2 separate regions of the Homo sapiens genome follow, and region 1 is linked to region 2. Evidence: promoter capture Hi-C in 16 types of primary human blood cells and fetal thymus (Javierre and others, 2016). All regions are on one chromosome and are shown on one strand. The core of a region is centred on a gene start or on the middle of the fragment in contact, and the rest is flanking DNA. Distances in the headings are between cores, read along the strand shown.

Region 1 (5,679 bases), core at 3,046-5,545, 92 kb before region 2:
CACCCTGCCCCTTGACCCCAAGGTTTCTGGTCTTCCTCCCTGCCAGCACCTTCTTCTTCCCTTGGCTGACCTCTTCTCAACAAAACTCCAAATACTGGTACACTCCAAGTGCAGCTCAGGCTAAACAAAGCCTTTTGCTCTTCTTCAAAGCTCCTGGAGTTCACATCCCTATCCAATCTCCCACCTGTGAGTTCAAGTGCCCTCAAACCCCTCCCATCCCCCAGCCAGTCAAGCCCTGACTTGGAAGTCACCTTTTATCTAGGTTTTAATTTCAGAGAAACAACGGATAATTCATAATGTAAGTACATCCTAAACACTGCAGCAGACAAAAATACTGCCTATCTGAAATTTCAGTGGGTTCACTGTATTGATAAATCTGGCATCACTACTTGTGTCCCTTCTCTACATTCATGCTCACATCCAGACACATCTAAGATCCCAACCCTCTGGCACTCTCATCTCTTAGCTCAGACAGAGCCCACTCCACCCCGCAGGCCCCTTTCTACCAAACCCTCTCCTGGCACCCATCACCTCACACAGCATGGCCCCATGAGGCACCAACTCCTCCCCTGCTTCTCTACACTTGCCCTGTACATGACCACCCTGGCCATGGGGCCTTCCACCCCCGCAAGAGCATGCATAGCGCAGCTCACTCAATCTGGTCCTTCACCTCCCTTCCCTGACCACACCATCTAAAAAGCCTGCCGCCTAACCCTGCTCTTCCCTTGCCCAACCCTTGCCTCATCTTTGCCCCTTTTCTCTTCCTCCAGCAAGGACAGTAGATGTTAACTGTTACATAAACTACTTTATTTAAATAAAACCAGGAAAGACCCTTTCCCCCTTACACACCAGCACATGCACACACGCACACCCACACCCTCCCTCCCTTTCGGCTGTCTGCCCATGGCCACCTCAAACCCCGAGGTTCTCATTGTGACCAACCTCCCTCAACCTGTAGACCCCCGTGCAGAGTCCAGTTGCCCACGCATCCCGGTTGCTGGCAGAACATGGGCCTAGAAAAGAGCACTCCATCTTCCTGGGGTGGGTCAAAAGGAAGGACTGGTTCTCCCAAGGCACCCAGATCTGGTGTGGCTTCCCTACAAACTGGGAGCACTGCCAGGCAGCTGGAGCTGCTCCCTGCGGAGGGCAGAACTTTTCACCCCAAGCCAACCCCTCCCTGTAACAAAGGAAGTAAGAGGGTTGGCAGCCAAGCTTCAGTGTGCCCCGAGGGATCCTGCAGTAGGTATTTTCAGTTTGGGGAAGAGCAAGGGAGAGCAATTGAGCACCAAATTCCCTAACCCCGTCCTGCAGGAGGGTGCTGAGTCAGTTCAGCATCCTCTACCCAGAAAAAGTAAACACAACTGTGCAGCAAGAGTGAGGGTGGGAATGACAGGGGCCTAAGCCTTCAGGACCTCATGACTTCACCCCCAACATGGGCCCTCTTAGGGACCCACTAGCACCTTGGCAATGTTGAGGACCCAGCCCAGCGGAAACACCATACCCACAGGAGCCAGTCTGGAGTTGGTGATGCTCCCTATGTTGACAGTGGGGTTGGGTTTCTCTCCCTGACACCAGCTTCCTGCAGGCCCTGTAAGTTCTGCTTTGGGGCACACATCGCAGAGTGCCTCAGGTCATGAAAGGGAATGCTGAAGGGAAAGGTGGTGTCTTCCGGAGGCACACAGTACATCTTACAGGTTACACACGGGCAGGCTGGAGCAGGACGGGGGGCAGGGCTCAGCAGCATACCTAGGGTACCCTCCAGAGTTGCCTTGGGAAGGGGGGCGGGGCTGGAAACCAACGGGAGGGGTGACTGTCCATCCCCTCCGACGGGAGTACTCAGGCCCAGCACCCATTTTCTCTGATGAGCTTCCCAGTGCCTTCTAGACCAAGTTCCCTGAGGGAAAAAGCCAAACAGATGGAAAGAGAGGGAGCAGAAAGGGAAAGCAAAGGGTCAATGCCCTGCAGATCGTGATGAGCTGGCAGGCAGAGGCAGACAGAGCGCCGAGGGCGAGCCTTCTGAATGGGTAAGGCAAAGAGAGCCGCCTGCTGAGGGGAAGGGGGAGGCTGTGAGAACGCCAGGGCAGGCACAGAGGACTCGAACACAGCTGGCCTCTCCCAGGGAAGCACTGGAGAAGGGGACCTTCGGGAAGACGAGGCCCCAGAGGAGAGGGCGTGAGAAGACTGTGGGCCCCAACCGGCCCGTGGTGGCAGATTCAAGCCAGGAACCCTGGCCCCTCGGCTACAGGCTGACGCTGCGCTGGTGCCGACCCCCACGGGCTCCGCCGTCGCTGCCCCGGCGCCCTCCACTCCGCGTTCCCAGCTCTTGGCCGTCCAGACTGACGTGGTCCGAGAGGCCTCGCAAGTGCTCCACGGAGTCGCACTTCTGCAGGTCTGAAGCCACCGTGCGCAGGCTCAGCAGACTCAGGGTATCGGTGTCGGGGGCGGGGCCGGGCCCCAGGCTGCTGCCCTCCTCCAGCCCCGCACCCTCGGCCCCCTCAATCCCGCTGTCTCCGTCCTCCATGTCCTCGGGTCCTGCCTCGGCCCCCACGGGGGAGGAGCGCCGAGGGCCCAGGGGGTGGGGAGGCAGACCCCCGCGGCGCCGTGCGTGAATCTGCTCGCTGATCTGCTCCAGGTTACGAAGGGCCACGGAGTAGCGCGTCTTGGCCTGAGCTACCTGCTGCTCCAGTTCTGTCACCTTGGCCTTGTGCTCCTGCAGAGGGCAGAGCAGAGCAAGGCGACCCATGGGGCACGTCTCCACCTTCCTCAGCACTCTGCACTGAGGTCTGAGGGCCTGCTCTCCCAGAATACCTGGACAGCTGGCTCAGCATCCACCACAGACCCACAACAGCCTTCCCTGCTCCACTCTCAGCACCCACCACAGACCCACAACACCCTTCCCTGCTCCACTTGCTCTGCGTTGTTCCTCCCCAGCAATCCTGCTCCTGACCTGAGCCCCACCTTCCAGAGCCTTCCTCTCAGGCCTTCCTCTCCACCAGCTCCTGCTTCCTCATCCTCTCCCCACTGTTCCCTTTCACCCAATGGCTGGTTCTTCTTCCCCATCCCAGATTTCCACCAGTTCTTTTCCTCTTGTTTACCTCCCTTCTTCCAACTACGTTCTCGCCGTCACCAGCCCCCATCACCAGCCCCCATCCCTGCCTCTCACTCCTGCAAGGTCATTTGGAACATGTGTGCCACCACCCTTCCCCACCGCTAGCCGGAGGCCTCACCCTGGCCACCTCACCAAGATGGCCCAGAGAGGCCGACCAGCATCCCCTCCAGCCTGCACCCCCACCTACCCATTCCTCCTCCCCCTCACCCACTCAGCTACCTCCAGGATCTGGCTGAACTGGGCCTTGAGCTCAAAGTAGGGGCGGCTCTTGCCGATGGCCCTCCGGAGGGTCTTCTGCAGGGCTTGGACCCGAGCCTCAGCCTGTTGGCACAGCCGAGTCACTCGCTGGTGCTCCCGCTCACCTCGAAGCCGCTCTTCCTCCGCCTCATTCACCTGGCCCAGAGGACACATCACTGAGCCAGGACCCATGCTTCAGTCTCTGGCATCTGCCCCAGGCTGCCAATCTGAACAACGCCCTGGGGGGAACCCAAACAGGAACATCCTCTGCAAACCCCCAACTGTGTACAGAGCCCGAGACACGCAGGGGAACACGGGGTCTATGAGCCTCAAGACAGCTTATTTCTGTCTCTCTTGGATCTGCTGCCTGACCGTCGAGGACCACATCACAGGCACATGCCTCTGAGCCACGTCTTCCCCATGTTCTTGCCTAGTGTCACCTGCACCACTGGCTACTCAGCTTTGCTGCTGCCAGGAAAGGGATGCTGGTGCCCACTCAACCACTTGAGAGCATCAGGGGAATGTCTGTCAGCACATCACACATCTGCAGCAGCCATTCTCTTCAGGGAGCCCTCAGCGCCAATGGTTAGGGATCTGGGAGTGAGAAGAGCCTGTGTGGGGAGCCACAGCTGTGCGCTGGGTTCTCCAGGTTTCCACACCCTATGTGGGCACCGTCCAGGACAAGTGGGCCGAGGTTGGATGGGGCTCTGGCGTGCTTCTGCTCAGGGTGTTGTACAGTTGGCCCACTTGTCCTGGTAGACAAAGCGGCTGGAGCCCTCACCTGCTCCCTGTTCAGGTGTAGCTCTACACTATACACCATCCCCTAACCCCTCCCCCCGTGCTGTGTGCTCTCATTTGCATGAGCTCTAGAGTAGAAGTGAGGTGCCTGTTCTGTGTGAGGGGCAGATGAAGAATCACAAGCCACAAACACCCCCTCGAGTTGCTGACACCTGCCCTGTGCAAGCTGAAGGTGGCAGACAGGGCCAACGGCAGAGATCCTTCCGCTCCCCAGTCCCCTTTCAGGAGCTTGGAAATGATACATAAATTATACTTCAAAACTCGAGGTGTACTGTCAGAGCTCAAAAGCAGGAAAGGGAGCAGACTCTGAAAACAGAAGCGAGGAGTCACACAGCTAAACATAATAAAATGTGAATGTTGAATCCTCAGTATCCACCAGGGATGAATTGTTTGGGTTAGTCCCACACCTGGAGGCAAACGTTCAAGAAGAGCCCGGGATGACATTCTAAGTCAGAGGGAAATGGAATATGGGAAGCAATGGAGGCCAAACAGAACAGAAAACTAGGAACAGGTTTTGCCTGAAACAGAATCAAAGTTGAAAGAAGGCTAGAATAGAGGGAAGAATGAGGAGGTGAGGTGATAAAGACATAGCAAAGGATGGACGAGAACCAGCGAAGGGGACCTGCTGGCACCGCCCGGCTCACCTTGCAGGTAGCATGGTTCAGCATCTCCTGCCACGTGGGGTCCAGTCGGTTCTTGTCAGCCATGACGCCCTGCTCAGCCACAAACACCATTTCTCGAGCAGCGTTGTGCATGCTTACGGCCCGCTCGTACCGCAGCGCTGCCTTCTGTGTCTCCTGCTGAGCCTGGGGGGAGAGGGATATCAGGATGGGGAACCCTGAGGGACCCCAGCTGCCCATGGAGACCCATAATAGACGTGAGGATAAGAGAAGGAGGAAGGCCTACTAGCAATGTCGGCTTCATTTCCCAAACTGTGCTGAGGATAAATGCCAAGGAAGCAACATTCTATAAAGAATATTTCATAAGGATATGGACTAGAAGAAATAAAAATTTTGCCAGTGGAGGGTAGATGTGTGAAATCCAGCACTCCCAAAGGCTGCTAGCCTTTTCCCCTAGGGAAAACAAAGGAAAACACAAACCATTTTAGTGTAAGGTGGTTAGCAACATAGACAGAGTCTTACAGAAAAGATGACCTTGAGACCATCAATTCCATGTTCAGCAGGCAAGCTGAAGGAAGTAATCAGACAAGTGCTCAGGGACAGTCATCATAGCCATACCAACCAAGCAAAAAACAAAACAAACCTAACTTTTCAGTTATAGGACATCGGTTAAATAAATAATAGTACATCTAATATAAGAAAATAAGCTGGGCGCAGTGGCTTCTGCCTGTGAGCCCATCTACTTGTGAGGCTGAGGGAGGAGGATTACTTGAGCCTAGGAGTTTGAGGTTACAGTGAGCTATGATCACACCATTGCACTCCAGTCTGGGCAACAGAGCAAGACCCCATTTCTTAAAAAAATAAAATATTAATCAGTCCTTTAAAATGACGGCTTGGATGTATAGTTATTGACAT
Region 2 (5,533 bases), core at 1,173-3,672:
AATTGTTGGGTAGGCTGTGATACTGCTATGGCTGTCAAAAACTTTAATGTAGTCAGCAACTTGTAGCTGAGCTTTAATTGCTGCTATGTACTAACATCATCAACCATAAGGTGTTATTTAGTCAATGCGACATGAGAATTTTTATATGTAAAGTCTCACCCCATACATACACACAAAGACATGTACAGGTGAAATAAACTAAATGAAATAAATTAATAAATATATAAGTTTAATTCCCTAAGTCCATTTTCTTCTTTTTATGTTTTTTTTTTATTTGTTAACTCCCTAAAGCAAGATAGTATCTATAAACAAACTAGGCTGCAAGGCTTTTATGAAATTTACTCATAATACACATAATTTAAATATTTTCCCCAATTTTTTCCTTAAAGCTTATTTAGCCTATTTCTCAATTAAAGAACTTCAAAATATGTATTTTCCTCAAAGGATTCTAGCTTAACGGGCTAAATTTTTTTTTTTTTCCCAATTCCTATCATGCAGTTCTTCTGCCATTCTACCCCAAATTTGACATTGTTTTCAAAGATTTGACTTTGTTTTTAAACGTAGCTTTATTCAAAGCAATGCACTGAAAATGTCTAGATGGACTCTTTGCAGCTCCATAAACACTTACACTTGGTCCCGATCTTTTTATTAACTTTAAATTACATATGCAAGTATCCAAATTGCAGTGAGAATTCTCTCTGGATCATAAAGGTATGGAAGAAACAGCCAGCAAGCACCTTATTACTCCTTGTTGAACTCACCCCCTCTTTGACCTCATTTCTTTGACTTTCTTTTGTCTCCAGCCATTCTCAAATGTGCTAGGCTTGCTTCGCCTCAGAGCATTTGCACATGCCATTCTCTCTGCTTCAAATATTTTCCCCCTTGAATTCTGCATGGGGAATTTGCTCTTCATATTCTTTGGCTTTTCCCTCAAATACAACCTTCTCACTTACCAACCTTCCCTGACCAAATTATTTAAAACTGAATTCACAACAGTCTTATTGGTCCCCTTTGCTTCCTTTATTTTCTTCCTAGCACTTTCCACTTTGACATGCCATATATTTTGTTTACTGTCTGGTTCTCCCACTGAAATGACAAGAGGGTTTTTCTCTTGTGCCTTTTCTTTTTCACTGTTCTAACATCACTGCTCAGAGGAGTGATTGTCACAGAGAAGACACTCATTTAACACTTGAATGAATGAATGAGACACAGGATCTGGGGAACAAAGCAAGTTAGAAACACCACCCTACCTTACCTAGAGTAGCACTCCCATTTTCCCATGGCTTATTGCCTGTTTTCTCAATTTGCTCATATGTGGAATGAATGACAAACTAATACGTGCCCTTCACTTCAGAATCTCACAAATGAGCATGATTTTTTTCTTCTGATCCAGGGGTTTTGGAACACACTTTACAGTGACCAAAAAACCTTTGTGAAGTGTCAGTGTGGAGAAGCAAATACAAACTCTTCACTAAGTGGCCCTCTTTTTGAATGTTAACACGGTTTGGTCCCAGGGATTTCTGTGTTCAAAGCCTTTCAGGGCAAGGCAGTTTTCTGCGGAGTACACTGTCCTATATACCTAATGGGCTACTGGGTTTCAGCTGGACAAAGTCCTTATAGAGCCGTGATTCTCAAGAAGTAGGGGGAGATACTTTTATTTGTCATAACTAGAGTGGAGAGAGTGTGGTGTGCTACTGGCATTTAGTTGCTAGGGATGCTCAATATCCTACAATTAAGGTTCTATTTTTACCAAGTAAAAATATAGGTAGGCAAGGTAGCCAGATGAAATACAGGGACTTCCAGTTAAATGTGAATCTTAGATGAACAACACTGTTACCTGAAACTCAAATTTAACTGTATTTTATCCGTGACCCTGCCTCCTATAATGCACAGGACAGCCTCCTTCCCTCTCAACAAAGAATTATCCAGGCCCAAAATGTCAAGAGTGGAGGTTGAGAAACCCTGCCATACAGCAGTGGTTCTCAAGCCCTAGTTTGTACCACAATTACCTTCAGGGTTGGTAAGGCCGATTATTGGGCACACCCTCAGAGTTTCTTACTCAGAAGGCCTGTAGTGGGGTCCCAAGATTTGCATTTCCATCGATTTCCCAGGTGAAGCTGCTGTTAGATTGGGGGCACATTTGAGAACCACTACCCTAGAAAGTCCCCATGCTCTCCTGATTAGGAAGGAGCGAGGAAGGTTTCCAAAGTAGGACAGGGGTGGGAGGGTAAGGGAGAGTGGCGGGAAGAGCTGGCCCGCTGGGGTGGGTTATTTCGGCCGTTCTGGCCTCGCAGGCGTTTTCGGGATCCCTCTAGGCGCCGCGGAGGTCCTGGAGTCTCGATGGTCGCTCGGGCCGGGGCGTGGCCTGGCCCGGGGGCGTGGCATGGAAGGCCGGCCGAGGTGCAGCGAGCCCTCTGGTGCCGGACGTTGCGCGGCCGCGACGCCCGACGCCAACGCAGGCGCAGCGCTCCGATTCGGCGCGGCTCATGGTCCGGTTCGGGCTCGCGAGTCTCCGTCTGGGGTAGGGCAGGTAGGCCTCAGTGTGCTCGCGCTGCAGGCAGGGCTTCGCTTGAGTACAGGAGTGGTTGGCGTTGATGTTGCGTTTTCTCAACGGCGGCATCCGAGGAGTTCGTCCTCACCACTGCGCGCCGACGGTGGGCTGGCGGGACCAGGACAGGAACAATGGGATTCCGAGGGCCGCAAGGGGGCGCTCCTTCTGCGGGTTGGGGTGCGAGGCCGGAGGCCGGGCCGGCTGAGCGGGAGGCGGAGCGGGGTGGGTGGGGACCAGGGCGGGGTCGGGCTAAAGAGGGATGGATTCAGGGCGGGGTGGGAGGGACCAGGGCAGGCTCGGGCGGGGTGGGCGGGACGAAGGAGGCGGGCGGCCTGAGGCTGGCGGCGGGACTGCGAATGCCACGTCACATCCTGGGGCGGGGTGGCTCTGTGCCGGGGCGCGCTGGGGGCGGGTCGTTTTTAACTGCGTCTGCCTGGGAAGCTGCTGAGGTTTCTGAGGGTCTTTGTTTGCCCTTCTTTCTCTTTTGCTAGTGAGGTGAAGAGAAGGGAGGGTTCTTCCGTATCCCACAAAAGCCATTCTGAGCTGTTGGGTGAAGGGGTGGCCTGCCCTTCCACACCTGTGGGATATCTTGTCAGGTGGGAGGAGAGACTGAGAAAAGAAATAAGACACAGAGACAAAGTATAGAGAAACCACAGTGGGCCCAGGGGACCGGCACTCAGCATACCAAGGACTTGCACCAGCACCGGTCTCTGAGTTCCCTCAGTTTTTATTGATTATTGTTTTCATTATCTCAGCAAGAGGAATGCGGTAGGAGAGCAGGGTGATAAGGAGGTCAGCAAAGAAACATGTGAGCAAAAGAATTTATGTCATAAGTTCAAGTGGAGGTACTATGCCTGGATGTGCACGTAGGCCACATTTATGTTTCTCTCTGCCCAAACATTTCAGTGGAATAAAGAATAACAGGGCAGCATTGCTGCCAACATGTCTTGCCTCCTGCCATAGGGCAGTTTTTCTCCTATCTCAGAATTGAACAAATGTACAATCAGGTTTTGTACGGAGACATTCAGTTCCCAGGGGCAGGCAGGACACAGTGGCCTTCATCTATCTCAACTGCAAGAGGCTTTCCTCTTTTACTAATCCACCTCAGCACAGACGGGTGTCGGGCTGGGGGACGGTAAGGTCTTTCTCTTCCCACGAGGCTGTATTTCAGACTATCACATGGGGAGAAACCTTGGACAATACCCGGCTTTCCAGGGCAGAGGTCCCTGTGGCTTTTCATGGTGCATTGCGCCCCTTGTTTATTGAGACTAGAGAATGGTGATGACTTTTACCAAGCATACTGCTTGTAAACATTTTGTTAACAAGACATGTCCTGCACAGCCCTAGACCCCTTAAACCTTGATTCCATACAACACATGTTTTTGTGAGGTCAAGGTTGGAGCAAAGAGGTTGGGGCAAAGTTACAGATTAAGAGCATCTCAGGGCAAAGCAATTGTTCAAGGTACAGGTCAAAATGGAATTTCTTATGTCTTCCCTTTCTACATAGACACAGTAGCAGTCTGACTTCTCTTTCTTTTCCCTACAGTTAGGCACCTGGCTCAGCTTTGGGGCATTTACATCTATAAAATGTCTTTTGAATAATTTTTATCTTGAATTAATTTCAGAGTTTCAGAGTGTTGTGAAACAAGCAAAAATTCCCATGTACGGTTCGTCTGGATTTCCTAGGGGTTAACATCTTATTTTACAAAACAGTCAACAAAACCAGGATATTAACACCTACAGGCCTTATTCGAATTTCTTTACTCTCACCTATTTCCATTTTGTAATTTAGGTTCCAAGACAGCATTTAGTTGTCCTGTCTTTCCTTGGAGAAATTTACATTTTAAACAGCAGCTCTCCCACCTCCCAATCCCCTAGGACCCTTTAGAGTGGCCTGGGGAGCTCCAGGTCTCACACCAAGTTGCTTTTTCTTTGTTGAGTGCCTGGGCCAGTTCAGTTGAGAATGCCCAGTTGGACCTCTGGGCAGCTCGTGACCACCCTCTGCTCTTCCTCCCAGTGCTGCTAGGCTTAGTGAATGGCACCTCTGTGCACCAGCCATAGGGTGCCTGAAATCTAGGAGGCTTCCCCGATCAGCTTTCTCCCCTGCCCTACCCCCTCAACCAATTATCCAGGCTTGATGGTTTTACATTTTAAGTCCTCCTTAAGTGTGTCCATTTCTCTCCATAGGCCCCACCCTTTTGCCGTAGCCTTTTTGTCCATCTCCCTGCATCTATGTTGGGGCCTGCATACTCAGTTGTCCATACTGCACCCAGAATAAGCTTGTTAACATACACCCTTCCTTCTGTTATGCTCTTCCTGTATTTTTTTTTTTTTTAAACTTCCCATAGCTCTTATAAAGACAGGCCTCCTTAACAGGGTCTTCAAGTCTCTGCAGGGCTGGTACAGCCTCTTGTACCCTGTCCCGCAGATTCCTTACTCTGGCGTCACTGCTTTGCTTCTCCTGTGCTGTGCCTTTTGCCTGGGGTGCTATTCCCTGCCTGCTGAGGGAATTGTTACTCTTTCTGCAGCTCTCCATCATTTTGTCTTTTCCTCAGGGAGATATTCTCTGACCTCCCTGACTAGATCAGTTTCCGTTTTACGGGTTTTGATAAACACCTCCTTTCCTTCTTAGCCCTGTCATAGTTACAATTTTATGCATATATACCTGGCACCCAGTAGATACTTCAGATGTTTGCCAAACGAATGAAAAAGTGATAGTGTGGCTGCCTAACAGCCTCTATCTAGACATTATTCCCTTTGTGAGTTTGCTTGGTATGTAGGAGCACTGGTTACCCATGTCCTCTTCCTCTGTTGGTTGTCTCAGGCAGGGCAAGAAAGATGGAGGAGCCACATGTGAGGGGATGGAGGGCCTGGGGAGCACAGTCTACAGACTCCTGAAAGGTAGAATGGGTTTTTGCTGAGCTTCTTGCGTATGTATCCCCCTCTGACCTGGTTGAGTCCACTGTATTAGATTCTTCACTG

Evidence for each region. The method cuts DNA at HindIII sites, captures the fragments that hold promoters and counts their contacts. A CHiCAGO score of 5 or more calls a contact.
Region 1: a contact is called between a fragment that was not itself captured here and the fragment with the promoter of PGBD2 in region 2, in 5 of 17 cell types (naive CD8 T cells, neutrophils, non-activated CD4 T cells and 2 more). The highest score is 8.8, in naive CD8 T cells.

The regions. Positions count from the first base shown.
Region 1 is chr1:248,809,661-248,815,339 of GRCh38, forward strand. SH3BP5L (SH3 binding domain protein 5 like) reads right to left here. Exons shown (of 7, transcript NM_030645.3): 5 at 4,789-4,950; 6 at 3,329-3,502; 7 at 786-2,710. The coding sequence ends at 2,240. Among named protein-coding and RNA genes, the nearest start is that of SH3BP5L, 13 kb to the right of the region's middle. RefSeq lists a silencer at 2,700-2,749. The HindIII fragment of the contact is 6,170 bases long and covers 1,211-5,679 here.
Region 2 is chr1:248,903,813-248,909,345 of GRCh38, forward strand. PGBD2 (piggyBac transposable element derived 2) reads left to right here and starts at 2,423. Exons shown (of 3, transcript NM_170725.3): 1 at 2,423-2,530. RefSeq lists enhancers at 2,053-2,974, 2,499-2,688 and silencers at 2,309-2,368, 2,779-2,868. The HindIII fragment of the contact is 4,441 bases long and covers 388-4,828 here.